Regions from separate parts of the Homo sapiens genome. Here all the other regions are linked to region 2. Evidence: promoter capture Hi-C in 16 types of primary human blood cells and fetal thymus (Javierre and others, 2016). All regions are on one chromosome and are shown on one strand. The core of a region is centred on a gene start or on the middle of the fragment in contact, and the rest is flanking DNA. Distances in the headings are between cores, read along the strand shown. Region 1 holds the start of TBC1D10B (TBC1 domain family member 10B). Region 2 holds the start of RABEP2 (rabaptin, RAB GTPase binding effector protein 2). Region 3 holds the start of C16orf92 (chromosome 16 open reading frame 92). Region 4 holds the start of RNF40 (ring finger protein 40).

Region 1 (7,274 bases), core at 99-2,598, 1.4 Mb before region 2:
AAGGACAACCTGGAGCGCTCATGAGATTGAGGTCGGGATTCTCAGTGGAACATGAGGAGCACAGAGGGATGTGGCAGTGAGGGGAGAGGGGTTGACGGGACTGGGGCCTTGGATCCCCAAAAGAATAGTAACACACATATGGGGAGTTCATGGTATTAGGGATTCATGGATTTGGGGTTTGAGATCCCCACTAGAAGAAATGGAGGGGGTACTCAGAGGGATAAGGTCTGAGGAACTGGAGCCTGGGTTCTGGGGAGGAGCTCAGATAGATGGGAACTGAGGAGAGGGACTTGGAGGTTGGGATTCCCGCAGGAAATGGGTGAAGCAGAGATATGGGTTGCTTATAGGATCTGGGGGCTCTGGCTATTGCCACCTGGGCCTGGAGTGTTGGGGTTAGTTGGGGGCCGAGATCGGAGAATTATAGAGTAAAGGATGAGAGTACTGGGTCAGGGCACTGGATCTGTGGTGGGGCTCAGGGTCCCACAGACCACCAGAGTGTGGGGCTCAGGAGCTGAACGAAGAATAGGGGACCGGAAAGGACTCGAGAGGGGGCAGCGCGGCACTCATTGGTTGAGGGCTGCACTAATGCCCCCGCCCCTTCTCCGTGCTGTCCCCAGCTGTCACCCTCCCATAAGGCTTGTCTCCGGTTGTCACCGACTATCCCTGGGCTGGCACCGCCTGCTGGCAGCATCTTTGCCCTTTGGATGCTCCCATTGGCTGAGACAGCTATCTATTTTCCTGTCCTGTGGCCAAAGTGGGAGAACACGATCATTGGCTGACGGGGCGAATTAATCTCTAGCTTGCCCCGCCTCCTCCCAGCTGTCATTCCTTACTGACCATTTTGGGAGACCTAAAGAATTCTTCAGCTCTTCCTATTGACTGCGGATGCTGTCTGTCACCGCCTAAATAGACATCACTGCCTGTCAATTTGACCTCCACCTGCTCCCCTTTTCATTGGCTCCCTTTTTACCATTCCTATTGGTTAAGAAGCCTCCAGGCCCCACCTCTTACTCGCACAGCCCTGCCTCCTCCTCCGCCCTTCCGCGGTCATTCACCCTTCAGTCATATTCATTGGCCAGGAGGTTCAGACCCCTGCGTTTCTATTGGTTATTTCTTTCGTCCCATCGCCCCCTGCCTTTCCTCGTCCTCTGATTGGTCTTACAGCCCTAGCTTTCTCCGTTTCCTCTTTCCAGATGACCCACCCCTTTTTCGCCTCCAGCCCCGCCCACGATTCCAACGATTGGCAGAAGCCCAGTTCTCTCTCTCCCACTATTCGTCCAAATCCTCTGACTAGGCGGGAGAAAAAAGGAGCGCGATGAGCCAGTCCGCGCGCAGGCGTGGAACGCCGAGACGCTGGCGCGGAGCCGGCTCTGCGGCGTGTGCGCAGGCGCGAGGTCGGCGGCTCGCCCCCAAGCAGGAGGGAGGGGGCGGTGGCGAGAGCGCGCGAGGGGGTGAGAGGGCTCGAGAGAGACCCCGGCGCGCGGCGCCCCCCGACCCCTGCCCCGCCTCTGCGCGCCCAGCGGCCGCTCCGCCCCCGGCGCGCGCCGAGCCGCGCCCTTCGCCCTCTCCCCTTTCTCGGCTGGCCTCGCCGGGAGGCCCGAGGGGCGGCGCCTTCTGCGGCCTCCCCGGCGGGGGGATGTGAGGGGCGGCCCGCGGCCATGGAGACGGGCACGGCGCCCCTGGTGGCCCCGCCGCGCCGTCATGGCGCCCCCGCGGCCCCCTCGCCGCCGCCCCGGGGTTCCCGGGCCGGGCCCGTCGTGGTGGTGGCTCCGGGACCTCCAGTGACTACGGCCACTTCGGCCCCCGTCACCCTGGTGGCCCCCGGGGAGGCGCGGCCCGCCTGGGTCCCGGGGTCGGCCGAGACCTCTGCTCCGGCCCCGGCCCCAGCCCCGGCCCCAGCCCCGGCTGTCACGGGCAGCACGGTGGTGGTGCTGACCCTGGAGGCCTCGCCCGAAGCCCCAAAGCCGCAGCTCCCCTCCGGCCCGGAATCCCCAGAGCCCGCGGCAGTGGCTGGAGTTGAGACATCGAGGGCTCTGGCCGCAGGGGCAGACTCGCCGAAGACAGAGGAGGCTCGACCCTCACCCGCCCCAGGACCAGGGACCCCCACCGGGACCCCTACCAGGACCCCTTCCAGAACGGCTCCTGGTGCCCTGACCGCCAAACCCCCGCTTGCCCCCAAGCCGGGAACCACAGTGGCCTCAGGAGTGACTGCACGGAGTGCATCAGGACAAGTGACAGGTGGGCATGGAGCTGCCGCAGCAACATCAGCATCAGCAGGACAGGCTCCTGAGGACCCCTCAGGCCCTGGCACAGGCCCCTCTGGGACTTGTGAGGCTCCGGTAGCTGTCGTGACCGTGACCCCAGCTCCGGAGCCTGCTGAAAACTCTCAAGACCTGGGCTCCACGTCCAGCCTGGGACCTGGCATCTCTGGGCCTCGAGGGCAGGCCCCGGACACGCTGAGTTACTTGGACTCCGTGAGCCTCATGTCTGGGACCTTGGAGTCCTTGGCGGATGATGTGAGCTCCATGGGCTCAGATTCAGAGATAAACGGGCTGGCCCTGCGCAAGACGGACAAGTATGGCTTCCTTGGGGGCAGCCAGTACTCGGGCAGCCTGTGAGTACCAGTGGGCACCCAGCGGGACCGCCTCGGGGAAGCAAAGGTTGGGGGAGGGCGAAACGAAAACGATACACTTTGCCCAGACTCTGGCAGCCCAGCCTCCTCTGAGGATCCACGGGGTGATCAGCGCGAGCTGCCGTGTCTTGAGCATCCTGAGGTGCCTGTGACATTGGCATGTTAGTGGAGTTTCAGACCAGGGGTCAAGAGGTCTGGGTTTAAGCCTTGCCTTTGATGGGTTGTGTGCCCTTGAGCTAGTGGCTTCCCCATTTCCGTGCCTCAGTTTTTTCCTCTATAAAGTGGATTGAATGAGATGATACCTGAGGTCATCCCTGCTCTTTGATGGGGAACTCCAGCTACAGGCCGGATATTCTGGAGGGTTGGTTGGGCGAGGGTTCTGGTAGAGACCCTTGGTCCCTTAGGGTGGATAGCCTGGGAGGGGTGCAGGCATCTCCCTTCCCCCATAGCCCTAGGTCCCAGGGATGGAGTAGAGAGGTGGGGAAGTCTGGCTGATGGAAGGGAGACTGTGCAGTCAGGATCCCGCTGTGAAACAGGGCAGTCTTGTATCTGCACTGAAGTAAAGGGTGGGAGAGGCCTCTTCCCCATTTCCTCATCTCCCCAGCCGGGCTGACTCTTTCCTAGTTCTCTCCGGGGCCTGAGTCACTCCCGAGGTAGGGGGTGATTGCCTCTGACTTCTTCCTTCCCCCTCTCTGGATCCTGCCCGTTGTTCCTGTGCCCCTTTGACCTGCTGGGCCAGTCAGCCTACAGCATCTCCTGGGCCCCCAGGTGTCAGGCCCCAGGTGCTAAGGATAAAATAGTCCTTTCAAGGAGCCAATCATCTGGAGAGAAAGAAAAGTACTTAAACAGTTGGTTTCAATAGAAGACCTCGGGTTTAGCCTAGAGATCTCCAGAGGGTTTCCTGAGGCACCTAGAGCAGGGAGTCAGCTGAACCTGCTCTGAATCGTGGAGAGTAAGTAGGATTGATTTAGTCTTGGCTATGTGTGCAGGGATCGGGGGAAGCCCTGTGGGAGAGTTTTCCAGGCAGGGTTCATGAGCCAACCAAAATCAGAAAGCCTTTGATTGGGTACCAACATTCAGGGTCTTACATGGGAAAGCAACTGAGGTTTGACCCTGGTGCTTTCTAGGCACAAGGACTCGGTTTATAGATGAAGAAACAATTAGTGCAGTTGAGTGAATTGTCCCCCTCAAATAATCTGGATCTGTGTGACCAGTGGCTCTCTCCTCAATAGCAGGCTGTCCTGAGGAACTCGGGCTGAACTTAGTTTGGGGGAGTCCCTCTTGTGTGCCAGGCACTATGCCGGGTGCTGTTTCTTTGCTTTGTAGCTTTGTCCCTGTAAGATCAGCTTCAATGCCAGAGAACTCTACCTCTTGGGCAAGACTGACTGTAATCCATGTTACTTTCGCAGCGTTCAGTGGCTCGCTGCTGTCCACAGGATGAAGTTCAGGCTCTTTGGCCTGCGCATAGCCTCTCTGGTCACCTTTGCCACCATTCCTCACCGGGTGCTTTGCGCTGTGGTCCTGCTGAACTAGTTGTAGTCCTTTCCCCTTCATATTCAGGCTGTGCACCTGCCAAGGGTGCTCTTCTCCCCTTTCTTTGCCTGCTAAGTTCTACTCATTTCTTCATGGCTTACCTCAGATGTCCCCTCCTCCAGGAAGCTTCCCTGATACCCACTGCCCCCACTCCAATTAGATGTGTCTTTGGTGCATCTTTGTCATTGCATTTCCCATGCTGTATTACAGTTATCGCTCCTCTTAGGCTGTAACCTTCTTGAGGGCCAGAAGGTATCTTACTCTTCCCAGCCCTTGGTAGAGTTTGTAACCGACTTATGATAGAAATTAATGAGAGATGGTCTCTCTGTTTAAGGAGCTTCTAGAACAAAGGAAACTAACATTTAACGAGCCCCTTCTATTTAACAGATGTTTATATGCAGTTTCTCAATAGTCTTCTCATAACTTTGTGATGTAGGTGGTGGTGGTGTTTTTTTTGTTTTGTTTTGTTTTGTTTTGTTTTTGAGACGGAGTTTTGCTCTTGTTGCCCAGGCTGGAGTGCAATGGTGCGATCTTGGCTCACTGCAACCTCCGCCTCCCAGGTTCAAGCAATTCTCCTGCCTCAGCCTCCCGAGTATCGGATTGAAGACATGTGCCACCACACCCGGCTGAGTTTGCATTTTTAGTAGAGACAGGGTTTCACCATGTTGGCCAGGCTGGTCTTGAACTCTCGACCTCAGGTGATCCGCTTCTCACTTCTGACACCTCCGCCTCCCAAAGTGCTGGGATTACAGGCATGAGCCACCATGCCCGGCCCGGTGGTGTCTTTTTATAATTGAGGAAGGGACTCAGGTCATCCCTTGACAAAGCTCCCTATTGTCTCAGAGACAGAACTGAAATTTGAACTTAGGTAGGTTTGATTCTTAAGACCCAAGCTTTCTTCCGTTCTACTCACCTCCTAGTACTGGCTCCTACAAGTAAGTGTTTGAAGAATGATGGGGCACCATGAGTATGAACCTCTGACAGAACAGTGAGTAAATAGGGCAGGGAGTCCTTTATTTGCCTGGGGTGATTTCAGGGAGGAGGAGGTAGAGTAAATTGCAGGTGACCCAAGGGATCTTAAACATTTGATAGGACAAAACTCAGATGGTTGCGTCTAAAGAGACAGAAGTACATTTGTTCTGTATTTTATTTTATTATTATTATTTTTTTTTTTGATGGAGTCTCGCTCTGTCATCTGGGCTGGAGTGCAGTGGCACAATCTTGACTCACTGCACCCTCCGCCTCCCGGGTTCAAGCGATTCTCATGCCTCAGCTTCGCGAATAGCTGGGATTTCAAGCACGTGCCACCATGCCTGGCTAATTTTTGTATTTATAGTAGAGACAGGGTTTTACCATGTTGTCCAGGCTGGTCTCAAACTCCTGACCTCAAGTCATCCGCCTGCCTCGGCCTCCCAAAGTGCTGGGATTACAGGTGGGAGCCACCATGCCCGGCCTATTTTATTATTTTATTTTTATTTTTTGTAGAGACAGAATCTCGTTATGTTGCCCAGGCTGGCCTTGAACTCCTGGCCTCAAGTGATCCTCTTGCCTCTGCTTCCCAAAGTGCTGGGATTACAGGCATGAGCTACCATGCCTGGCCCTCTAGGGTATTTTATTTTATGGATAGTAAGGTATTACTTAATGGGCACTTCGCTGTGTGTTATTTCGTATAAACCCCTTCGGGTAGATATTGTTACTTTCTCCACCTTACAGATGAGGAAATTGGGCTTAGCAAAATTAAGTGATTTGCCCAAGGTCACACAATGAATAAATGGTAAAGCTAGGACGTGGATCCAGATCTAATGCAAAATGTGGCTTTAAAATACTCCATACTCTCTCCCCAGATTTGGATGTGTCAGAAGTGAGATTTAAATATGACCTCTGAATAGAGATCCATCAGGGAAGGAAGCCCTTTCAGTGTGCCTTGGGATGCCCAAGTGGCCAGACATCCTGATGTTTGGCAGCTCACAGACTATCCAGTTTCTCGTTTGAGCTTGGGGAGGTGGCTTGCCTCAGTTCCCCCTGCAATGCAGGTTTTACACTATTGCTACTGACCCCTTCCGTGCTCCCCCGACCCTGCAGAGAGAGCTCCATTCCCGTGGACGTGGCTCGGCAGCGGGAGCTCAAATGGCTGGACATGTTCAGTAACTGGGATAAGTGGCTGTCACGGCGATTCCAGAAGGTTTGAGGGCTGAATGGTGGGCAGGGCAATGCACAAGTTGGGAGGGGTAGCATGTGCTCCAGGGAAGCCCAGGAAGCCGATAATATCTGCCCTCTGGACCACACTGGGGATAGATGGGCCCTGGCGGGGGAATGGCTTTAAAAATAGAAGTCCAGGCCAGGTCCAGTGGAATCAAGCCTATGGGATGTCGGAGGAGTATCCAGGGAGTTTGTGGACTGCTGGGGAAAGGTTGGAGGCTGTGCCAGCCCTTGAAGCTGTCCCCCTCCTGCCACTTTGCCTTAGGTGAAGCTGCGCTGCCGGAAGGGGATCCCCTCCTCTCTCAGAGCCAAAGCCTGGCAGTACCTGTCTAATAGCAAGGAACTTCTGGAGCAGAACCCAGGAAAGTTTGAGGTGCGTGCAGCTCCAAGGTGTGGGGACATGTGGCCCTGTCTGTGCAAGGGGTATCAGTTCCCCCAGATGCTGAGGTAATCCCCACTGTCCCACTGCAGGAGCTGGAACGGGCTCCTGGGGACCCCAAGTGGCTGGATGTGATTGAGAAGGACCTGCACCGCCAGTTCCCTTTCCACGAGATGTTTGCTGCTCGAGGGGGGCATGGGTAAGGTGGCCGGACCATGGGGGTCAGTCAGCAAACATTGGCTGGAGGATCCACCTTTTAGCTAGGTGGATACAAGACTGAGTCGAAAGTGGTTTTTGCCCTTCAGGACTTGTAGAAGAGCTATCTGTAATGGACTAAGTGTCAAGCCATGTCAAAGGAACTGTCCTGGGAAGGAGACTTGACTCAGGTTGTGTGTGGGGGCACGTCATGGGCTCCTTGAAGAGCTTGCATTTGGGCTGGGTTTTGGAGGGGTGGGAGCTACAGCAGTGGGGCAGGGTTTTCCTGCCTGGGGGTTATGGAAAAGATCACCAGGGACCCTTAAATGCTATGCC
Region 2 (6,905 bases), core at 1,142-3,641:
TCTCAGCTCACTGCAACCTCTGCCTCCCGGGTTCAAGCAATTCTCCTGCCTCAGCCTCCCAAGTAGCTGGGACTATAGGCGCATGCCACCATGCCCGGCTAATTTTTTGTATTTTTAGTAGAGACAGGGTTTCACCATGTTAGCCAGGATGGTCTTGATCTCCTAACCTCGTGATCCGCCCTCCTCAGCCTCCCAAAGTGCTGGGATTACAGGCGTGAGCCACCGTGTCCGGCCATGCCCAGCTAATTTTTTAATTTTTTGTAGAGATGAGGTCTCACTATGTTGTTCAGGCTGGTCTCGAACCCCTGGGCTCAAGTGATCCTCCTGCCATTGGCCTCCTAAAGTGCTAGCATTATAGGCATAAGCCACCACACTCAGCCAGAGGTGGTTATTTTAGTTAGGGTGATCAGGGAAGGCCTCACTGAGGAGGTAACATTTGAGCCGAGACCTCAGCTCCAAGCTTGGTGGAAAACACTTGGTTTTATACTTGATGAAAAAGTAAGTGCGTGTTTAGTTTTGTTCAAAACTGCCATACTCTTTTTGCAGAGTGGCTATACCATTTCACATTCCCATCAACAAAATATGAGAAACCTAGTTTCTCCACATACTCACCAGCATTTGGTGTTAGCATTCTTATTTTAGCCATTCCAAGAAGTGCGTAGTGATGAAAGCAATTGTGGTTTTAATTTGTATTTCCCGAATAAATAGCTAATGATGTTTAACATCTTTTCATGCACATATTGCCACCTGTGACAGCAGTGAAATATCCGTTCATATCCTTTGTCCATTTTCTTTATTTCAAGTTCTGGGGTACATGTGCACGATGTGCAGGTTTGTTACACAGGGAAACATCTGCCATGGTAGTTTACCGCACCCATTAACCCATCACCTAGGTATCAAGCCCAGGATGCATTAGCTACTCTTGCTGATGCTCTCCCTCCCCCCTCCCAACACCCACCCCACAGGCCCCCATGTGTGTTGGTCCCCTCCCTGTGTCCATGTGTTCTCATTGTTCAGCTCCCACTTATAAGTGAGAACATGCATGTTTAGCTTTCTGTTGCTGCATTAATTTGCTGAGGATAATAGCTTCTAGCTTCATCCATGTCCCTGCAAAGGACATGATCTCGTTCCTTTTTATGGCTGTATAGTATTCCATGGTGTATATGTACCACATTTTCTTTATCCAGTCTATCATTGATGGGCATTTGGGTTGAGTCCATGTCTTTGCTATTTTGAATAGTGCTTCAATGAACATACTCGTGCATGTATCTTTGTAATAGAATGATTTATATTCCTTTAGGTATATACCCAGTAATGGGATTTCTGGGTCAAATGGTATTTCTGGTTCTAGGTCTTTGAGGAATCACCACACTGTCTTCCACAATGGTTGAACTAATTTACATTCCCACCAACAGTGTAAAAGCGTTCTACCTTTGGCCATTTTCAAACTGCATTATCTGTTTTACAAAAATCGCTCCAGCTGCTTTACGGAGAATTAATTAATTAAAGGGTGGAGTCGACACTGCGGAAGTTCAGGAGAAGTGATGGGAGCTGGGACGGAGTGTTAGCGCTGGAGATGGAGAAAAAGGGGCACATTCTGGAATAGTCAGCACATTGGAAGTAGAGTTTACGGGACTTGCAGGAGGACACGTAGAATCAAGGACTTCCAGGTTCCTGGCGTGTCCTTTACAGAGGGAAAAAAGGTTTGAGGGAAGGGGAACCAAGGCTCTGGACATAAATCTGAATTGCCTGTCACCGTCCGGGTGGAGGTCACAGATAAAGAGCCTGATCTAGACACAGGCGGAGAGGAGAGGAGGGATTTGAGGGCGTTGGGAGGAGGAAAGGGGGGCCAGCAGGAAGCGGTGACTGGCTGAGTAACAAAATGGGGGTGGGGACGTGCAAGTTTCAGACTCCGACTAACTACGCGGGGACTCCGAGGCGCTCAGAAAAATGAAGCCGACCCGGCCCTGCCCCGAGGGACGCTCCAAGAGGGCGGAGGTGCAGGGAGGGCCCCGCCACAATTCGCGGTAACGCAAGCCAGGCTCGGGCGGAAGGGCGGCCGGAGCCGATCAAAGGCTGGCTCCGGGCAGGGGCAGCGAGGGAGCGAGGGGGAGCTCTCCGCAGGCCGGTGTCCCGGAGGAGGCATAATTGGAGCAGGGCTTCCAAGGTCACGGAGAGACGCCGGGCAAGACCTCTTAAGGATCCTCTTCCGGGCTTGAAAGGCAGGCGTCCTCCCGAACCGCGCGACCCAGCCAAGAAGAGCCGGGGCGGGGCCGGGGCCGGGGCCGGGGGCCGACTCGGGAATCTTCGGCCGAGGCTCGGCAATCCCCCCATCCTCCGTCCGGGGCCTCCAGCCCGGGGCCGATCCGGAAACAGCCGAGCGGATCCGGAAACAGCCGAGAGGACCCGGAAGCGGTGCGCTCCGTCACCAGGGAGTGCGGGAATCCGCCGTTTGCGCTGAGGCAATGGCGGCAGCTGCGCCGGTGGCCGCGGACGACGATGAGCGGCGGCGGCGGCCGGGGGCTGGTACGTGAGGGGGCGTCCGTGCAAGCGGGGAACGGTGATGCTGGGGGCGGGGCCGAGCCAGCCACCTGCGGATGGGGGGTGGAGAGGGATGATGGAGGAAGGGGCGGGGCCACGCCGTCGGGAAAGGGGGCGGGGCCTACAGCCACAGGCAAAAGGGGGCGTGGCCCGGCCATTGAAGGGGTAGGGCCAGTGACAGGTGCGAAGTGGGGCCCGGTGAGGAAGGGGCGCGGCCACTAGGAGGGCGGGGCCAGGTGGGACCGAAGAGAGGACTGAGTGAAACTGGCCACCGCGAAGAGATGGAGTGTAGGCAGCACCCGGCAGAGCGAGTGGGAAGGGGGCGGGGCAGGGGCGGGGCCAGGTGAGCCGGGCGGGCCCAGGTGAAGGAGGCCCCAGATGAAGGCAACAGTACTAGGTTGCAGGACTTGCTAAGCCGGTAGGTGGCCTGGGGTAAGAGATGGGAAGAGAGGCTGATCCCTGTCCCCCACAGCACTGGAGGACTCCCGGTCCCAGGAAGGGGCAAATGGTGAGGCCGAGTCAGGTGAGCTCAGCCGGCTTCGGGCTGAGCTGGCAGGCGCCCTGGCAGAAATGGAAACCATGAAGGCTGTGGCAGAGGTGAGCGAGAGCACGAAGGCCGAGGCTGTGGCTGCGGTGCAGCGGCAGTGCCAAGAGGAGGTGGCCTCGCTGCAGGCCATCCTGAAAGGTGAGACGCGGGACTCACCTAGACTCCCCATCAACCCCATACTGGGGAGTGCATGACGAGAAAGGGATTGGGGGCACAGATAAGCTATGGGATAGGTTAGCAGGGCTGCCTGGCACAGGGCATGCCTATGGCCCAGAGGAAGGGCCGCCCTTTTAAAATTTGCATAGAGGCCCTCCATGTGATAGCAGCAGCTCTGTCAGTTATAGCTAAGTTTAGCTCCCAGCTTCTATCTGTTGCCTTGTCCCATGTCATTTCTTGTCCCTCACTGATGATTGATCAACCCTGAAGATGGGCGAGAAACTTCTCAGTTCCCCAAACCAACCTCATTTTAGTCTGGACTTCTGGGAAATAGAATCAGCCCTGGCCCAGTCTCTGTGAGTCTAATGCTCTGCTCTCTAGCCTTCCCCAGACACTCCCCCCTCCACCCCACGCCATGCACCAGCTTCCCCACCTCCGCCCCACGTTCTTTGTACTTGGTCCTCTGGCCCCAGACGCCCCAGCTGCTGATCCTGTTTTCTACTCTCCTTCCTCTAGCAGAAGCCAGAGACTCTGAAACAGATGTCAGAGCTGCCCCCGCTGCTATGCCCCTGCTGCGGTGGGGCTCTCGTCAACTCTCTCCTGGACTTTTGTCCCAACCTTCTCACAGATCTTCCTCTATAGTGTGGCCTTGACATTGGCTTCCAGAGTAAACTTCCTAAAATTCCCTTCCCAACATGCGATTTCCCTTTCTAACAGCTGCTGGTGGCTGGAGACTTCTCTGGGGCTGTATTTCCCACATTTCAGGATCCACCTGCCTGTGCAATGTAGACACATCCTTGTACAACTTACTGTGCTGTTTACTTAATATTTGTTCTTTAAATAGATCCACATTTTAAAAGTTTACATACATTTATTAAGGGAAACTTGTTATATCTACTATATAAGAAAAGCCAGGTGTGTCCTAAATAATAACAATAGCTAGCTTTTTTTTTTTTTCTTGAGTCAATAAGAGTTTCACTCTGTCGCCCAAGCTGGAGTGCGTCACAGCACGCTGGTGTGATCTCAGCTCACTGCAACCTCCACCTCCTGGGCTCAAGCAGATCCTCCTACCTCAGCCTCCCAAGTAGCCAAGACTACAGGTGCATGCCACCATGCCTGGCTAATTTTTAGTATTTTTTTGTAGAAACAGGGTCTCTCTATGTTACCCAGACAGGTCTTGAACTCCTGAGCTCAAACGATCTGCCTGCCTTGGCCTCCCAAAGTGCTGGGATTACAGGTGTGAGCCACCGCGCCTGGCCAGGTAGCATGTTTTGAGCACTCACTATGTGCCAGGCACTGAGCTAAATGCTTTATGAGTAACTAATCTTCATAACAAACTCTGTGAGGCAGGAACTATTACCCATCTCCATTTTACAGAGGAAGCTCTGAGGCCCGGAGAGGTTAAATAACTTGCCCAAGGTCATATAGCTGGAAAACAGCCAAAGGTTGGAAACCAAGCAGCCTAACAGCTGAACCTATTTTTTTTTTTTTCTGAGACAGTGTCTCACTGTTACCCAGACTGGAGTTCAGTGGTGCAGTCTCAGCTCACTGCAACCTCCACCTCCCGGGTTCAAGCGATTCTCCTTCCTCAGCCTCCCAAGTAGCTGGGACTACAGGCGTGTGCCACCACACGTGGCTAATTTTTTTTTTCTTTTCTTTTGAGATGGAGTCTTACTCTGTCGCCCAGGCTGGAGTACAGTGGTGTGATCTTGGCTTACTGCAAGCTCCACCTCCCGGGTTCATGCTATTCTCCTGCCTCAGCCTCCCAACCAGCTGGGACTACAGGTGCTCGCCACCACGCCTGACTAATTTTTTTTTTTAATTTTTAGTAGAGACGGGGTTTCACTGTGTTAGCCAGGATGGTCTCGATCTCCTGACCTCGTGATCTGCCTGCCTCGACCTCCCAGAGTGCTGGGATTAGAGGGGTGACCCACCACGCCCGGCCCCATTTTTTGTATTTTTAGTAGAGATGGGGTTTCACCGTGTTAGCCAGGATAGTCTCGATCTCCTGACCTTGTGATCCGCCCACCTCGGCCTCCCAAAGTGCTGGAATTAGAGGCGTGAGCCAGCACGCCCGGCCCAGCTGAACCTTTACTTCTACTGTTAGTGCACAATAATAGGTCAATATCTATACAAACAAAAAATGACCACGTTCTACCAAAAATCAAACAAGTCCATGTTACTCAGGTGGGAGGATCAGTTGAGGTCAGGAGTTTGAGACCAGCCTGGGCACCAAAGTGAGACCCTTAGCTGGGTATGGTGGCAAGTGCCTGTGGTCCCTGCTACTTGGGAGGGTGAGGTGGGAGGTTCACTTGAGCCCAAGAGTTTAAGGCTGCAGTGAACTATGATTGCACCACTGCACTCCAGCCTGGGTGACAGAGGGAGACCCTGACTCTCTTTTTTTTGTTTTTTTGTTTTTTGAGACGGAGTCCCGCTCAGTCACCCAGGCTGAAGTGCGGTGGCACAATCTCGGTTCACTGCAACCTCCGCCTCCTGGGTTCAAACAATTCTCCTGCCTCAGCCTCCCAAGTAGCTGGGATTACAGGCGCCCACCACCATGCCTGGTTAAATTTTGTGTTTTCAGTAGAGACAAGGTTTCACTATGTTGGCCAGGCTGGTCTCGAACTCCTGACCTAGATGATCTGCCCACCTCGGCCTCCCAAAGTGCTGGGATTACAGGTATGAGCCACAGCGCCCGAACCTGACTCCCTTAAAAAAAAAAAAAAAAAAAAAAAAATCTATGTTCTATCCAACATCACCTCCATCTCCTGCTGACCTGTAGAATAAGTTCCAAACCTCTTGGCGTCACATTCAAGGCCCTGGGAGCCACCCACTGCCTCCTTTCCAGTGTCTCTCCTTGGGCGCCTTCACTGTTCCAGTCCCTCCAACATATTCCACCATGCCACAGCCACGCCAGCTGCTCTTCCGCTGCTCACACTGGTCCTGTTAACTCATGCATCTTTCCCTCCTTCACTGTCTACCACTGTCCTCTCCTGCCTGGCCAGGCAGGCAGAGTGAGGGCTCCTTCCTCTGGGATATCCAAGCCCAGGAAGGGTCCTCTCCTGTACCTCTTCCCATACTGCATCCTAACTATTGCCACAGCCGCCCTCTTCATTGGACTGTGAGCTCCCGGTGGCAGGCTTTGTGTTTGATTAATTTCTGTATTTCCAGAGCCCAGCTCAGAGTCTGATCCAGCGTAAATATTTATTACTACGATTAAGGGCCGGGTGTGGTGGCTCATGCCTGTAATCCCAGCACTTTGGGAGGCTGAGACGGGAGGATTGCTTGAGCTCAGGAGTTCAAGACCAGCCTGGGCAACATGGTGAGACCCCGTCTCTACAAAAAATACAAAAATTAGCCAGGCATGCTAGTTTGTGCCTGTAGTCCCAGCTACTCGGGGCACTGAGGTGGGAGGATTGCTTGAGCCCAGGAGGCTGAGGTTGCAGTGAGTCATGATTGCGACACTGCACTTCAGCCTGGGCAACAGAGTGAGACCCTTTCTCAAAAATTAAAAAAACAGAGGCCTGTGGTGGGGTGGGGGGAGAGGGGAGGGATAGCATTAGGAGATATACCTAATGTAAATGACGAGTTAATGGGTGTAGCTCACCAACATGGCACATGTATACATATGTAACAAACCTGCATGTTGTGCACATGTACC
Region 3 (7,237 bases), core at 3,664-6,163, 1.1 Mb before region 2:
ACCTCTCTCCCTGTGTTCCCGCTTCGCGTTCTCTACAGCTGCCCCTCCCCTCTCATCTTTCCCTGCCTCTGGGCCGCAGCTCCACACCACTGCACCAGTCTCAGGTTCCCTTTTCCCTGGTACCGTCCCTGCTGGAGAATGGGTTGGCTCCACTCACAGGCCGCCTGCCTCAGGCTCCCCATCCTCAGAGGCCTCAGCCCCAACTTCTCCACAGCCTCCTCCACGTGCCTCATGTTTGGTGATGGCTTCTGGCTGACTCTGCTTTCATCCCTCCACCCCTTGTGGGGCGAGCACCCCAGGTCCTGCCTCTCTGACCTCCTGCCCCCACCCCAGGCCAGTCTTGGGACTACAGGATTTAAGAGAAACTGCCAATGTGCTGACTCCAGAAGAAAAATGCTGTCTTGTCTATTCATCCATTTCTCGTTTTTGTTTACTCTCCAAGTACATGGAACTTTCTTTGTCCTTGGCTCCTTTTGCTCTGCATTTTCCCCTTAACGCTTGGCTGTCCCTGAAAAACAACACAAAATAGACAAGAGATTGGGTGACTTTGGGGCAGGGCGAACAGCGCTGACAAGACCTCTCACTTGCCAACAGGGTCTGTCTCTGATGCCTCTCGGATCTTCTGGGGATGGTGGGGATGACAGTGAGGGCTGTGGAGCCACACCGCCCATGTCCCTTCCTTGGCCAGGTTACCTAGCCCCTCTGTGACTCACTTCTTCACCTGTACAGTGGGGATGATGGCCACACCTACCTTTTACAGGGTTTTGGGAGGGGTAAATAAGGCTATGCATGGGAAGTTTGGAAGATCGCCTGTCCCAGGAGGCAGGAATGGGCGTCCACCCCTGTGACCTCTCTCTCCAGCACTCTCGCCCCTTCAGCTGTTGCTGGTCCTAACCTCATGGTAAGGTTAGGACAAATAACCATGGCAAGGTCCCACCTGCCTGTCCTGGGCTTATTTTGGCACTGTATCTGTGCCTTTTGGTCTGTGGGCATCTTCTGGTCTTTTCTTTTCCCCCGACTATACTGCAGAGAGAGAGGAACATGGGTGAGTTCTGAGACCACAGGTTTGAATCCCAGCACCATCTCTTACTAGCTGCATGACTGTGTGACCTTGGGCAAGTTTCTCACCCTCTACCCTCTGGATCCCTCATCTGTACCCAAGACTCCGCTCCTGTCCAGGGCTGCTGTGCTGACCCCTGAGATCTGACCCCAATCACTGGTGTCCCCTTTCCTCCTTGCTCCCCCACCCCGTCTCTCTGCCCAACAGACACTGGCTGTCCTCTGCCTACACGCAATTTGCTGTGCCCTACTTCATCTACGACATCTACGCCATGTTCCTCTGTCACTGGCACAAGCACCAGGTCAAAGGGCATGGAGGGGACGACGGAGCGGCCAGAGCCCCGGGCAGCACGTGGGCCATAGCGCGTGGCTACCTGCACAAGGAGTTCCTCATGGTGCTCCACCATGCCGCCATGGTGCTGGTGTGCTTCCCACTCTCAGTGGTGAGTCCCGGGGAGCTGGGCGGGCGGGGTGCGGGTGGCCTGCTCCTTGGTCCTGCTGGTGCTGGCAGGAGCCTGGGAAGCCCCGGGTCTGCGTACTGACAACCAAGCAGACCCAGCGTATTCCCAGGGAAAGCTGTGGACAGGCAGGGTTCACTGAGCACCAGCCCAGGGCACCAGGGTGTGGGGGCAGCCTGGCCCTGGGCTGGACGATGCCCGGCTGTGGCTCTTTGGATTTGTGGTTGCACGTCTCTGAGCCTCAGTTTCCTCACCTGTTACATAAGGGACACAGTCTTTCTGCAGGACCGTGAGAGGGATGCAGCCAAGTCATGCACCTGCTCCTGCACCCAGGTGTTCTTTCTCTTTTTTTTCTTTCCAAGACGGAGTCTCTCTCTGTCACTCAGGCTGGAGTGCAGTGGTGTGATCTCGGCTCACTGAAACCTCCGCCTCCTGAGTTCAAGTGATTCTCCCATCTCAGCCTCCCCAGTAGCTGGGATTACAGGTGCCCACCAACACGCCTGGCTAATTTTTTTGGTATTTTTAGTACAGACGGGGTTTCACCATGTTGGCCAGGCTGGTCTCAAACTCCTGACCTCGTGATCCACCTGCCTCAGCCTCCCAAAGTGCTGGGATTACCGGCGTGAGCCACTGCACCCAGCCCTGCACCCAGGTGTTCTGATGTTCAGAGTCAAGCATCTCCCAAAGTGACAGAGGGGAAAGAGGAAGGGCGGGGGCTGCCCAAGAACCCAGGGAGAGCCCCAGCTCCTCACCTTCCTGCCTCTGTGCCCAGGTGTGGCGACAGGGTAAGGGAGACTTCTTTCTGGGTTGCATGTTGATGGCAGAGGTCAGCACGCCCTTCGTCTGCCTTGGCAAGATCCTCATCCAGGTGAGTGAGCATGGGAGGGTGCAGGAGCCCAATGGGGAGGTCACAGGAAGGGGAGGGACCTTCAAGGTTGCTGCCAAGGGCTCTAGCCCCTTCGTCATCCCCCCCTCACCCCGTGCATTTTGAGCACCTGGTGCTTGTGTCCTGGCAAAGTGTCTGGTTTGGGAGGAGCTGCCTGCTAGGGTCGCAGGGAGGCAGGGAGAGGGCCAAGGGGGGCCGAGCCCTTCTGCTGCCGTGGCCACTGTGTCTGTGTCTCCTCAGTACAAGCAGCAGCACACACTGCTGCACAAGGTGAACGGGGCCCTGATGCTGCTCAGCTTCCTCTGCTGCCGGGTGCTGCTCTTTCCCTACCTGTACTGGGCCTACGGGCGCCATGCCGGCCTGCCCCTGCTGGCCGTGCCCCTGGCCATCCCTGCCCACGTCAACCTGGGCGCTGCGCTGCTCCTGGCCCCTCAGCTCTACTGGTTCTTCCTCATCTGCCGTGGGGCCTGCCGCCTCTTCTGGCCCCGCTCCCGGCCGCCCCCGGCCTGCCAGGCCCAGGACTGAGGCCGGGGGCCGGGACCCTCCCCCTCCCCACCCCCACCCCCGTGGAGACAGGGCTCTGGGGCTGATGGCTGGGGTTGGGAGCCAGGGTCCTCTTGCCCGGACAACCCCAGGACTGACGATGACCCCGAAAGGGAAGAGGCCCCATCTCTCGGGGACTGAGGGGGTGGAGAGAGGGGACCTCTTCCCCCTACTCTGCCCCCTTCCTGCACACCCTTGCGCTGGAGGAGGGGAGGGGGCACCGCCTCCCACCCACTGAGGGCAGGAGGGCTTGTGGGGAGGGACACCAACAGGGTTTCAAGGGGACCAGGAGTCAGAATGTGGGGAGACGCCTCTGCCAAGGCCATCCCAGCCCCTATGCTGCCATCCCCCAGGGCTCCCCATCACCCGAGAGGAGAGGACGCCCCAACTAACCCCCGCTGGCCCTCGGGCCTCCCGAGTGGCCGGCTGCAACCACGGCTCCTCTCCAGGGTAGGCCAGCTTGAGGAATCTTATTTATTTTATTTATTTACCCAAATTTGAACTAGTCTGTTGGGTTGGGGGAAGGAGGTGGCTGCTACCCCCAAGCCTTCCCAGTGCTGACAACCCCGGGGGCAGGCGAGGGCGCCCAGTCCCTCACCATCGGCTGCACATCGCGCCCTCGGGCCCTGCCATGTCCCTGGTGCTACTGACCTCTCAAGGCTTCCTCCAATCTGGGGTCGGGGGACCCTGGGAGGTGCTTTACAGACCGCTAATAAAAGACGATCTGCGTGAACGCCACCAAGGCCCTTGCCACCAAGTTCTTTGGGGCTGGGAAGGGAGGAGGTGGGGGGCTTGGGCCATGGGAAACAGAGGGGACAGGATCCCCAGCTGCTCGCTGGGCAGTCAGGGAGGAGGAAAGCAGGGAACTTTTGCTCATCAACAGGAGAGGAGGTGGGTGTGGGTGCTCAGGTTGAGTCCAGAGCCCTTGTCCGGCTCTTTAGGCCCCTTTCTGGAAGTTTCTGTGGGGCATGGAGATCAGAGGGGAGAGGTCACAGCCTGCCCCGCTAGAACTGGGGTCTTCAGCCGCTCCCAAGGAAGGTGGTGGTGGGTGGGGTTGGAGAAAGGGGGCAGGCCTTACATGTGGGTGCAGAACTGGAAAAGGAGAAAGAAGAACGCCACCACCAGCAAGCCCACCAGGATGTGATGGAAGAGCCCGGGGCTGGAACCTGCTAGACAAACAGGACCCTTAACTCCCCTCTGATGGCCCAATGAAGGGTCTGGGGCTGCTCTCCTCCAGACCCTGGCGGGGAGGGAGGTCCCTTCTCAAGCTGGTTCATACCTGAGTTAATGAACACGATGGGTTTCTCTCCAATAAACTGGGCCACAGCCAGCAGCCTGGCTTGGTCTGAGTCCGGATAATCGAAGAAGTCAGGTCTGTCTAAGAAGCGCGGAGACTCTGTCCCCAGGGCTGACGCCGTGGCACGCTTGGGTCTGGGTGCTAGGACCCAAGCAAACTCTGTGACAACAGCCAAGCTGACCCCTGCCTTTATCTCTCGAGGCGGAAGCTGACTTGGGACCCTGTGAGACCACCCAGCCTTATTGCAGAGGCTGTGGAGGGTCTTGATTTCCCTCAGGGTCAGCTGGGTGCACCACGACAAGGCTCGCGGTTGTTGGGGGGTAGGTGGGACCAGCAGGATGGGAGAGAAGAGTGGAGAGAAAATGAGAGGGTGCAGGGTTGGCTTCCGAGTCCCTAAGTGGGCATCACACTTTATGCTCCCAGAGCTGCCTGCCTTCCTGCTGCTCCCAAGACAGCTTCTTACCAGTTTCTATGGCCCCTAGTGCAGCCAGCCACACCCACACCAGCACCCATGGCCACAGCCTCATGACTCCTATCATGAGGTGGGGGCTCTGTGATGTCACAGCCCAGAGCTGTTCTGATGGCACTTTGGGGTGAGGGGAGAAAGTGCTAGGAGCTGGGACCCCTCCCCCATCCCTCACTCTCATCAGAAGAGGAGAGGAGAAGAGAGGTTGGGACCAGTCTTCACCCCCTGGAATGTCGCTGATGATAAAACCATAATGGTGGCAGCCCCAGCATTTACAAAGAGGAGGGATGCGGCACGGCCATCTTGCTGAAAGCCCGAACTAAAGGAAGCTGTGTTTGGACAACAGGCACAATTTGGGGTGGTGGCACAGGGCCACACACCTCCGGTTACCCCTTGGATCAACCACAGGTAACATTTGTTTTATTTATTTTCATTTTTTTGGAGACAGGGTCTCTGTCTGTCACCCAGGTGGGAATGCAGTGGCGCCATCTTGGCTCTCTACAGCCTCTGCCTCCTGGGTTCAAGTGATTCTCTTGCCTCAGCCTCCTGAGTATCTGGGATTACAGCTTTGGATAAATCCCTTCCTTTTATCTGTCTGCCACCACACCCGGCTAATTTTTGTATTTTTAGTAGAGACAGGGTTTCACTATGTTGGTCAGGCTGGTCTTGAACTCCTCACCTCAGGTGATCTGTTCGCCTCGGCCTCCCAAAGCGCCCGGCCTATTTTATGTATTTTCAGAGACAGGGTCTCACTCTGTCACCCAGGCTGGAGTACAGTGGTATGATTACTGCAGCCTTGAACTCCTGGCCTCAAGTGATCCTCCCACATCAGCCTCCTGAGTAGCTGGGACCACAGGCATGTGCCACCATGCCCGGCTAATTTTTGCATTTTTTGTAGAAATGAGGGCTTGCTATGTTGCCCAGGCTGGTTTCGAACTTCTGGCCTCAGGTGATCCTCCAGCTTCGGCCTCCCAAAGTGCTGGGATTACAGGCATGAGCCACCATGCCCAGCAGGTAGCATTTATTGAACACCTATTACTATGCTGGCTGGACCCCATTTATGGCCAAGTACCTTGCACAAATTTGTTCATTTGCTCTTGCACTGACCCTCAGAGGCAGGTACTCTTTTTTTTTTTTTTTTTTTTTTTTTTTTTTGAGATGGAGTTTCACTCTGTCCGCCAGGCTGGAGTGCAGACGCACAATCTCAGCTCACTGCAACCTCCACCTCCTGGGTTCAAGCGATTCTCCTGCCTCAGCCTCCTGGAGTGGGATTACAGGCGCGCACCATCACTGTTCGGCTGATTTTTGTACTTTTAGTAGAGATGGGGTTTCACCATGTTGGCCAGGCTGGTCTTGAACTCCTGAACTCGGATGATCCGCCTGCCTCGGCCTCCCAAAGTGTTGGGATTACAGGCGTGAGCCACCAAGCCCAGCCCAGAGGCAGGTACTCTTGCCTCCCTTATACACGGGAGGAAATCACGGCACAGAGGGGAAAAGTAGTGTGGGCAATGCACACTTCCTGGGGGGGGGGTTCCTCTCTGAGGCTCCCCCTTGCATCCTATCCGCAGATCCAGGGGCACAGGGCTCTCTCCGTCCTCCCCCGCCCCCTCCTTAGTGCTCAGCCGGGAACGACCCTGGGGTTAGGAACCGAGAGGAGTAGCAGGCGTCTCCCACTAGGTGGCAGCAGCGGCCGCGCCTGAGTCCACGCTCCCACCCTAGGAAAGGCGCAGCGGGGCGGACTCCCGGGCCTCCTCCCGCCTCTTCCACAGGTTGCATCCGCGGCTGCAGGAAAACGGATGGCTGGGAATGGCCGTCGGGGGTTGGTCAGAGGAAGTCCCTCGGCCCTTTCCGAGGCACATCTCTTGGCCATCCACGCGTCCTTCGCAGACTCCGCTCCCTGCACCTCCGTTTCCTCTTCTGTGGCCGGCGGCTCCCCCGTGGCCACCCCATCTCCCATCTCTGCCACCTCCCAACAGCCATTTCCACTCCTGCGGCCCCATCCCAGCTAAGGAGAGCGCCCTTCTGATTGGCAGGTGGGCCTGTCTGTCACGGGCATGTTCCATCCCACCCAAGCCCAAGGACACTCCAGGGTTTCCTTAGTTTCACAACGAAGGTGCGTGCTCAGCGGACTCTGCAGACCCAGTGCCGCGACTTCCCCTAAAGCCAGGCGTGTATCTGCGCGTGTGAGGTGCTCTGCCGCAACCCTATGCAGAGAGCAGGTGGGCTAGGACTCGGGGTACTTGCCATGAACCGCTTCGAGTTCCTAAACAAGTAAAAAGCCCAGAGAGAGAAAAAAAGGGGGCAGCGGGGCGGGGGTGGGGAAGGAGGGAAACGAATATCTATGGGACTGGCTCACGTGGGCTGCTTCCCCTGTGCTGCGCTGATGGCTTCCCTTTTTTTGAGACAGGATATTGCTCTATCTGTCACCCAGGCTGGAGTGCAGCCTCGACCTCCTGGGCTCAAGCGATCCTCTCACCTCAGCCTCCCAAGTAGCTGGGACCACAGGCGTGCACCACCACACCTGCCTA
Region 4 (6,987 bases), core at 3,360-5,859, 1.8 Mb before region 2:
AGGGCCCAGCACTCCCAGATAAGGCCCCACCTCCGCCCTATCCTCACCACATACCCGCCTGCTCGTTGGCCGCCAGATTCTGCTCAAACTCGATGCGCAGCATCTCATACTCCTTGCGTACCTGGGCCAGCGTGTCCTCCAGCTGAATGACCTCTGTGCGTAGCTTCTTCTGCAGCCCCAGCTCGTCGCTCTGTGGGTTGATGTGTTAAGGACCCACACAGCCCCTCGGTCCCACCTCAGGACTCAGTATCTTAGGAAGAATCTATTCCCCAGGGACCCCTGGCTGGCACACAGGGCCTCGGAAGGCACAAACACGTCAACACTAACGGTTTGGCCCTTAGCCCAGCCCTAACGCCTGTTCCAGGGCCATACCTCCATGTGCTCGATGTGTCGCAGGTGGGAGTTCTTTGTGGCCAGCAGCAGGCCCCGAGCCTCGTCTAGCTGGGTCTTCACTTGCAGAGACTCGTTGTAGAGCAGTGAGAATTGGGCCTGCAGCATGCGGTACTCCCCCGTCTCCCGCACTACCTCCTCAGGAAGGCTCCGCAGGGCCACCTGGGGCAGGGATGCCCAAATGGGATCAGCAACAGGATTCAGGGCTCAGTCCCTCCCTTACAGGCCCAGGACCTCTCAGCCCCTACAGCAGCCCACCTTGAGGCGCTCATTGGTCCGCACAGCCCCCTGAAGTTCGGCCTGCAGTTTCTCCAGCTCTGCCATACGGCTGTTGGCCAGTTCCTGGTTTTCCTCTAACTCTGCATTCAGCATCTCAAACTAAGGAGTGGGAGGCAGGGCCATGGGAGGCAGGGCCAGACGTGGCAGCAGGCCTCCCTTACATCCCCAGCATACACTCCACCCCAAGCACCCCGTGCAGGGCAATGATCGATTCTGACACCCCAAACCAAGTACTTTCCTAAGGGCTCCCAGAAAAATGGGAGAAAATTCAATACTGCATGGTCGGTGCTGGGAACTAAGGCTCTTAACTGATGGGGAGTCACGGAAGGCATTCCAGAAAGGCCTAAAGTGCTAATAAAGGGAAAAAGGGCACAGTGACCACCAGATGCCAACTGACTCCAACTCACTCTTAGCTCTCTCTTCTGTGCTTTATCTTTGTGGTACTCATAACACACTGATATGCTATTTTACTGATTTCTTGTCTGTTACCACAAGTAGAACCTAAAGATATATTCTTTTATTTATTTCTTGTCTGGTCCATGAAAGTTTTGACCTCTATTTTGTTCTCGCCAATATGCCTAGTGCCTAGCACTAAGTGTTCAAAAATCTACTCAACAAGTATATGAATGCATGAAAAAAAGAGCAGCAGGAGTGACCAGGAAGGGCCTCAGAGATGGATGTTTGTCCTTTGTCCTGAGGGGAATTTCAAGAGTGCAACAGAGAAGAGGTTGTGAGAAGGGGTGGGAGGAAAACGCCGCTCACCTTCTGCATGCTGAGTGTGATCTGGCCCCCCTGGAAGCCTGAGGAGCTCCCAGATACATAGTAGCCAGAGTTAAGCTGTGGAGAGAAAACAGACAGGCAATGGATGTAGAGGGGAGGAGCTAAGGCCCAAGGGCCCAGCCTTGCCTCACCTGCCCCAGCACCCCTGCCCCACCTGCTCTAAGGCCTCTGCCAGGTGCTTATTGAGCTTTTGCTCTCGCTTCCGCAGCTTCTCGATGTCCCACTGCAAGTCCTCCACTGTTGTCTCCATCTCCAGCACCTTGGTCTCTGCCGATGTCACTTTATCCTGGAGCTCGGAGTACTGGGAACAATGAGGGAGCAGATGCTTGGATGGGGGACTTGGTTCCTGAGGTCCCTGAGTGCCCATCTAACCCAAATCCTGCCTGATTCTAATCACACCCCCAAAGCCCCCGGCTCCTCACCTCCAATGAGATGCGGTGGTGTTTCTCCTGCAGCTGAGTGGCCAAGTCCTGCAGTCGCCGGTTCTCACGGCCCAGCTCTCGGGTGTGTGCCTGAGCCGCCTCACTGAGGGGCTCACTGTCCCCTGGGAAGGCAGGGCCCAGGTAAGAGCCCAGCTCAGGGCAATGGGGCAAACAACTAACTCATTCTGGAGTCTGCTATATACCCAGTGTGATCCACCAGCTGTCTTGCCCATTTCTCATGACAAAGCCAGGAGTCTTTATCCCCACTGCACAGAGAAGGAAACCAGCTCAGAGAGGGGAGCCACTTTCCCAGCATGTCCAGGTGAGGGTGGCAGAACTAAGGTGGGAGAAGCCTGTCAACCTACAAGGCCTGAGCCCTTGAAGCTATGCCTTGTGGATCCGCAACCCACACCAAGTGCTCCAGAGGGGCCTCTGGCCAGGAGCCTCTACCGGCATCAACAACTCCTCCAACCCATCTCTCTAGCATTCAATCCCGGAATCAAAGTTGGAACCCCCATCTACAGCCTAACCTACCTCTTCCAAGAACATGGCTGATTTATTCCTTGGGAAATTCTGGCCGCCCTTGGACTCGGGCATTAGGGGAATCAGGAAGGGGTGCCATCAAGATGCAGGTGGGGATGGACACCCCTTCAGTATGGGCACAAAGAACCCACCTCGGCTGTACACTCGCTGACAGAGTTCCTCCACCCGGCGCTGTAGGCGGTCTGAGGCCTCTACCACACGAGACACAGCTGCCTTGGAGAACTCCATTCGGCCTTGCAGCTCCAGCTCCACCTCCTCACTGCTGCTGGCACCCAGTGCCACCACAAAAGCCAAGGCCGGCTCACTGAGAGGGGGCCGCAGCTGCATCAGCAAGGGGTCTGGAAGGAATGGACAGACCCTCATGAGGATAAGAGCAGCAGTTACTACCACTCTGTACCAAGTTCCAGACTGAGCCCTTCAATACTCATGGTTCACTTAATCAACACAACCTATAGTGCACTATTATCTCCATCCTGAAAGTGAGACAAATGAAATTCAGGGAGGTAAAGTAATTTCCTCAAAGCTACAGAGTTGCGTATCACATCCTCAGGGAAGCTTCCTGTACTTTACCAATATAATTAGAATCACACGCACATGCATGCACACACAATCATTCCGTTTCAGGAGCCCCAGTACTTTCTGCTTACTATGTTTATAATTTCCTCCCTTATAGCAAGTGCAACACTCATTTCTAGGAAGCGTCAAATACATATTTAATACTCAACCATAATACTGTTTTGAAACAAATGGGTGTCAAAACATGAATTGCTCTATAAACCAAGTTAGTCAGAGTCTAAAGCCTGTGTTTTTGTGCACTGCACTTTACTGCCCAAACATGAAATCCATTTCGTGAGAAGTAGTAAGATAGGCAATTCAGGGGCCCAACACCAAAGTCCCCTCCTCCCCAGGACTTCTCCCAGAACTTAAGCTCCCCAGATCCCAGCACTCTGGTCCTACCTCTCAGCTCTGATGTCCCCGGCTCTGGGAGAGGAGTCCCATCACATGTTGGCCCCTCCTGGGTCCCAGGTGCCTCAGGCGCTGAAGACAGCTCCCCCTGGCTCTCATGGCATCGGAGAAGGGCTTCCACAGTTTCATCCAGCTGGAAGGAGAAAACATCAAAAATGTTATGAATCCCTTAGTGCTTTCCAACATGATACTCCTTTCCTAGCAGGGGAATCTGGGGATTGGCAGCTGAATCAAGGCCTGGTCTTTGAAAGCAGAAGGTATCCACCTGGGCCCAGTAGCGATTGACGATGAGGAGTGTGGCATCATCTGTGGCCTGCCGCTTCTCCAACTTCTCAATTCGTTCTCGGAGTTCATCTTCACAAGCCTGCCGTTGTTCCAGCCGCTCTGCCAGTTTCTTGTTCTTGAACTGTAGTACCTTCAGGTCCATCTCCTCCTACCAAAGGAAACAAAGGGGCCGACGAGAGCGTCAAGCAGGGCCCACAAACCAATCACAGAGAGAGAAAGAGGAGCAGAGCATCTGCAATGCATGGGAGATGGAGGTATTCCCACACTAACCGCTAACAGAATCTAAGGAGGCTCAGACAACACACAGCGAAAGTGTCTTTGTTGTGAGGAGGCTCACGTTGTTTCTGCCTGTCCCCTTGTAAATCCTTAGTCTTTGACAAGTCACACGCCCCCTGGAAACCTGTTTTCCTATCTGTAAAGGGAAGACAGGCGTCGTGTTCTGAGCTTCTTTCTAACCTTTCTTTCAAGGTCCTGTAACGCGGACCTTGCTAAACTTGGGGAAGTGGGTGTAAGATTCCGCACAGTTTGGCCAGAGAACAGAGGGAGGGCTCTGGGAAGTTCTGAGGGTTAAGGCAAGAGCCCACGAACCGTGGAAGAGATGCCTCCAAGACGAATGGGCTCGATAAGAGTCGTGGTGGTCTTCTCCTCACGACTCAGCTTCTTTTCCGGGGGCCCTGAGCCCCCGTCGCCGGCGGCGCGTTTGTTGCCTGGCCCAGACATGGCCGCGGCGGCTGGAGCGATGCAGGGTCCCCTGAGGGGCGTCAAACGGGAGGAGGCGGTACTTCCGTCACCTGCAGAAGACACAGAGCAGAGATGTGGGAACGGCTGGTGTTCCACAGCCCCAAACACCCTCCACCCTGCACACACCTGCTGGATCCCGTCCCCCCCGGCGCCAGAGCCCTCACCAGCAGGAGGGTCAGCCTAGCGCCGCCATCTTGGATTTCACCGGACGTCACTGGGCGTCACTGGACGCCACTGCCCCCCCCCCAACGGTGCGCAGGGCGCAGGCGCCAAAGGCAGCCCCGGATGTGAGGAAACTTCTTTATCTTCTGCTTCTATTGGTTACGCTTGGTCCCGCCACTCGGGTCCTCTGGCTTCTTCCCAAACACCTCCTCTTTCTCTCGGTGATTGGCCAAGAGGCAGTTCCCATAGTAACTGACACCGCGCTCCCACTTCCCAGCCTGGAGGACAGCACCGGCCCTCGTATTAGCAACCTGGAAGAGAGGGCGCCCAGGTGGGCACTCGCAACTTCTCACGTATCTGCGCGTTCTCTTCGCTCCCACTGGCGTGAGCCTGCGCTTTCCGCCTTCCTTCCCTCACAAGCCCCCTTGGCAACCGTCGCCGTTGAGACGGAGGGAGACGCCCCCACGGATTCGCCCCGCCGCGCCTCTCCGCGCGTAGATTGGCCGGAGCGAGGCGAACGGGCCCGGCCTTGGTAGCCGCCGACCGAGCGCTGGCTGTCCTGGAACCTAGGCGGCGGGAGCCCGGGGCGCCTCGCGGCACGGAAGAGCGGCGAGATGCTCAACCGCAAGACCAGCCACTTTTTGGGAATGAGGGTGCAGTCGGAGCTTGAACATCTCTCCGAGCTGCGGCGGGAAGCGGGGAAGGATCGCAGCTCAGTGCATGGGTCGGCCGCGCGGACGCGTGCGAGTGTGCGGACTCAGTGGACGACGGCGGCGGCGGCGAAAGCGGATGAAGACCCCGGAGCCAACTTGTTTCCGGTGAGGGCGGGACAGTCTGGTCTGCTCGTGAATATTTATAAACCGGCTCCCCCGCAGGCGCCACCTGTCATTATGCTTACTAACGTTCGGGACGTCTCCCGGGCTGCTTGGGCGAGGAGAGGCAGGGGTGTGTGACCCCGGTGGTTACTGTGCTCGCGTAGAGCACCTAGGGCCTGCTGAAGCCCTCCCTCGCCCGCGCCTCTCCTTAGTCCTTGAGATGAGATGGCAAGTTACAGCGGCTTCTCCGGCCTGCTGGAGATTCGCTACGGGCCAGGACACCGCAGCTGCCTTCCCCAATTCGCTTTCTTTCCGCAGCCGCCGCTGCCCCGACCCCGGATCTGCATGTGGTGAGTGTGAAGAGACAAAAATTACACTGAATATTTGCGTTCTTTATTGTCTCCCCAACAGTCCTGTCTGTGGCCAGGGCATCCCCATTTTACAGATGAGACTGAGGCCTGGAGATGCAATTACTCCAGGTGACTGGAAGTTGGCTTTCCAGCCTCTCCAGTCCAAAGAGGAGGCAGTGTGAGAAAAAAAGAGCCAAAGACAGAATGTAAATGGAGTCTCATGGCCGCTAAGGAGTATTGTACAGAGGGGGACACTGAGGGCCACAGGGAGTACTTGACCAAGGTCATACAAGGTAGTGGCAGAGCAGAAAAAAGAATTCAAGATTCCTAACCCTAGGCTTTAGAAATGGAGAGGCTCATAAGAGTTCATTTAGGCCCAGAGAGTTAACGATTTGCATAGTCACACAGCAAGCTGGCAAAAGAGCCCAGCTTCACGCCGGTGGCCAACTCCCAGTCTCACGCACTAGCTGTCACAGCCTTGTCATGATAGGTAACGGCCACCAATACTCTTTTTCTTTTACTATAACAGGAAGTACCTGGACGTCCATTCCATGCACCAGCTGGAGAAGACCACCAATGCTGAGATGAGGGAGTAGGGACTGAGGGGGGCGTGGGAAGAGCTCTTGGCAAAGGCTGAGGGGTCAGGTTGGGAAAACATGAGGAATGGCTGACTCCAAAGCATGTGGTGGGTGTAGGGTGATGAAAGGAGGCCCAGTTGTCACTCACTCCTCTCTCCCTCCCAAGGGTGCTGGCTGAGCTGCTGGAGCTAGGGTGTCCTGAGCAGAGCCTGAGGGACGCCATCACCCTGGACCTCTTCTGCCACGCGCTCATTTTCTGCCGCCAGCAGGGCTTCTCACTGGAGCAGACGTCAGCGGCTTGTGCCCTGCTCCAGGATCTTCACAAGGCTTGTATTGGTGAGAGGGGGCAGCTACCAGGTTTGAGCCCCAGGGAGAAGAGGAACCGGGCCTGGCACAAGTGACCATGGGAAGCAGAAGCAGGGGATTTCTGCCTGGAATATGTCATTATTAGTAGCATCATCATACACAAGCCATCAGCTTTCCAATCCACTGCTTCCTTATCTAGAAATTAAGGATACAGCACACATTTTACAGGACTGTTCTGAGAAATAATATATGCAAATATATGCATAGTGCACAATAACACCTGCTTTAGAATGTTTAATAGCTCTTGCTTCAGAATGTTTAATAGCTGAAATGATCTATTTCTTGGTTTATTCCCCTAGAATATAAGCTT

What was found. The method cuts DNA at HindIII sites, captures the fragments that hold promoters and counts their contacts. A CHiCAGO score of 5 or more calls a contact.
Region 1: the fragment with the promoter of TBC1D10B here is called in contact with the fragment with the promoter of RABEP2 in region 2 in 1 of 17 cell types (fetal thymus); the score reaches 8.6 in fetal thymus.
Region 3: the fragment with the promoter of C16orf92 here is called in contact with the fragment with the promoter of RABEP2 in region 2 in 1 of 17 cell types (monocytes); the score reaches 5.0 in monocytes.
Region 4: the fragment with the promoter of RNF40 here is called in contact with the fragment with the promoter of RABEP2 in region 2 in 5 of 17 cell types (non-activated CD4 T cells, activated CD4 T cells, total B cells and 2 more); the score reaches 10.6 in non-activated CD4 T cells.

Annotation. Positions count from the first base shown.
Region 1 is chr16:30,364,568-30,371,841 of GRCh38, reverse strand. It overlaps TBC1D10B (TBC1 domain family member 10B), which reads left to right and starts at 1,348. Exons shown (of 9, transcript NM_015527.4): 1 at 1,348-2,614; 2 at 6,248-6,347; 3 at 6,630-6,737; 4 at 6,836-6,942. The coding sequence starts at 1,659. It also overlaps a transcript of MYL11 not described here. RefSeq lists silencers at 1,463-1,752, 1,843-1,922. The HindIII fragment of the contact is 4,560 bases long and covers 1-4,293 here.
Region 2 is chr16:28,920,724-28,927,628 of GRCh38, reverse strand. RABEP2 (rabaptin, RAB GTPase binding effector protein 2) reads left to right here and starts at 2,391. Exons shown (of 13, transcript NM_024816.3): 1 at 2,391-2,526; 2 at 3,014-3,226. The coding sequence starts at 2,466. RefSeq lists enhancers at 1,348-1,931, 2,910-3,139, 3,170-3,259 and silencers at 2,150-2,499, 2,530-2,749. The HindIII fragment of the contact is 8,433 bases long and covers 463-6,905 here.
Region 3 is chr16:30,020,874-30,028,110 of GRCh38, reverse strand. C16orf92 (chromosome 16 open reading frame 92) reads right to left here and starts at 4,913. Exons shown (of 4, transcript NM_001109659.2): 1 at 4,707-4,913; 2 at 4,226-4,384; 3 at 4,025-4,112; 4 at 3,407-3,905. The coding sequence starts at 4,770. The coding sequence ends at 3,884. It overlaps TLCD3B (TLC domain containing 3B), which reads left to right. Exons shown (of 5, transcript NM_031478.6): 3 at 1,268-1,502; 4 at 2,290-2,385; 5 at 2,644-3,684. The coding sequence ends at 2,928. It also overlaps a transcript of DOC2A not described here. The HindIII fragment of the contact is 16,537 bases long and covers 1-7,237 here.
Region 4 is chr16:30,759,944-30,766,930 of GRCh38, reverse strand. It overlaps RNF40 (ring finger protein 40), which reads right to left and starts at 4,609. Exons shown (of 20, transcript NM_014771.4): 1 at 4,571-4,609; 2 at 4,254-4,456; 3 at 3,646-3,813; 4 at 3,372-3,513; 5 at 2,546-2,752; 6 at 1,872-1,993; 7 at 1,604-1,750; 8 at 1,432-1,506; 9 at 649-768; 10 at 373-552; 11 at 55-190. The coding sequence starts at 4,385. PHKG2 (phosphorylase kinase catalytic subunit gamma 2) reads right to left here. Exons shown (of 10, transcript NM_000294.3): 10 at 5,755-6,987. It overlaps CFAP119 (cilia and flagella associated protein 119), which reads left to right and starts at 4,869. Exons shown (of 9, transcript NM_001014979.3): 1 at 4,869-5,386; 2 at 5,702-5,733; 3 at 6,263-6,325; 4 at 6,478-6,647. The coding sequence starts at 5,183. RefSeq lists enhancers at 4,291-4,400, 4,521-4,780, 4,268-4,905, 4,861-5,040, 5,631-5,780 and 3 more and a silencer at 5,317-5,546. The HindIII fragment of the contact is 4,015 bases long and covers 2,972-6,986 here.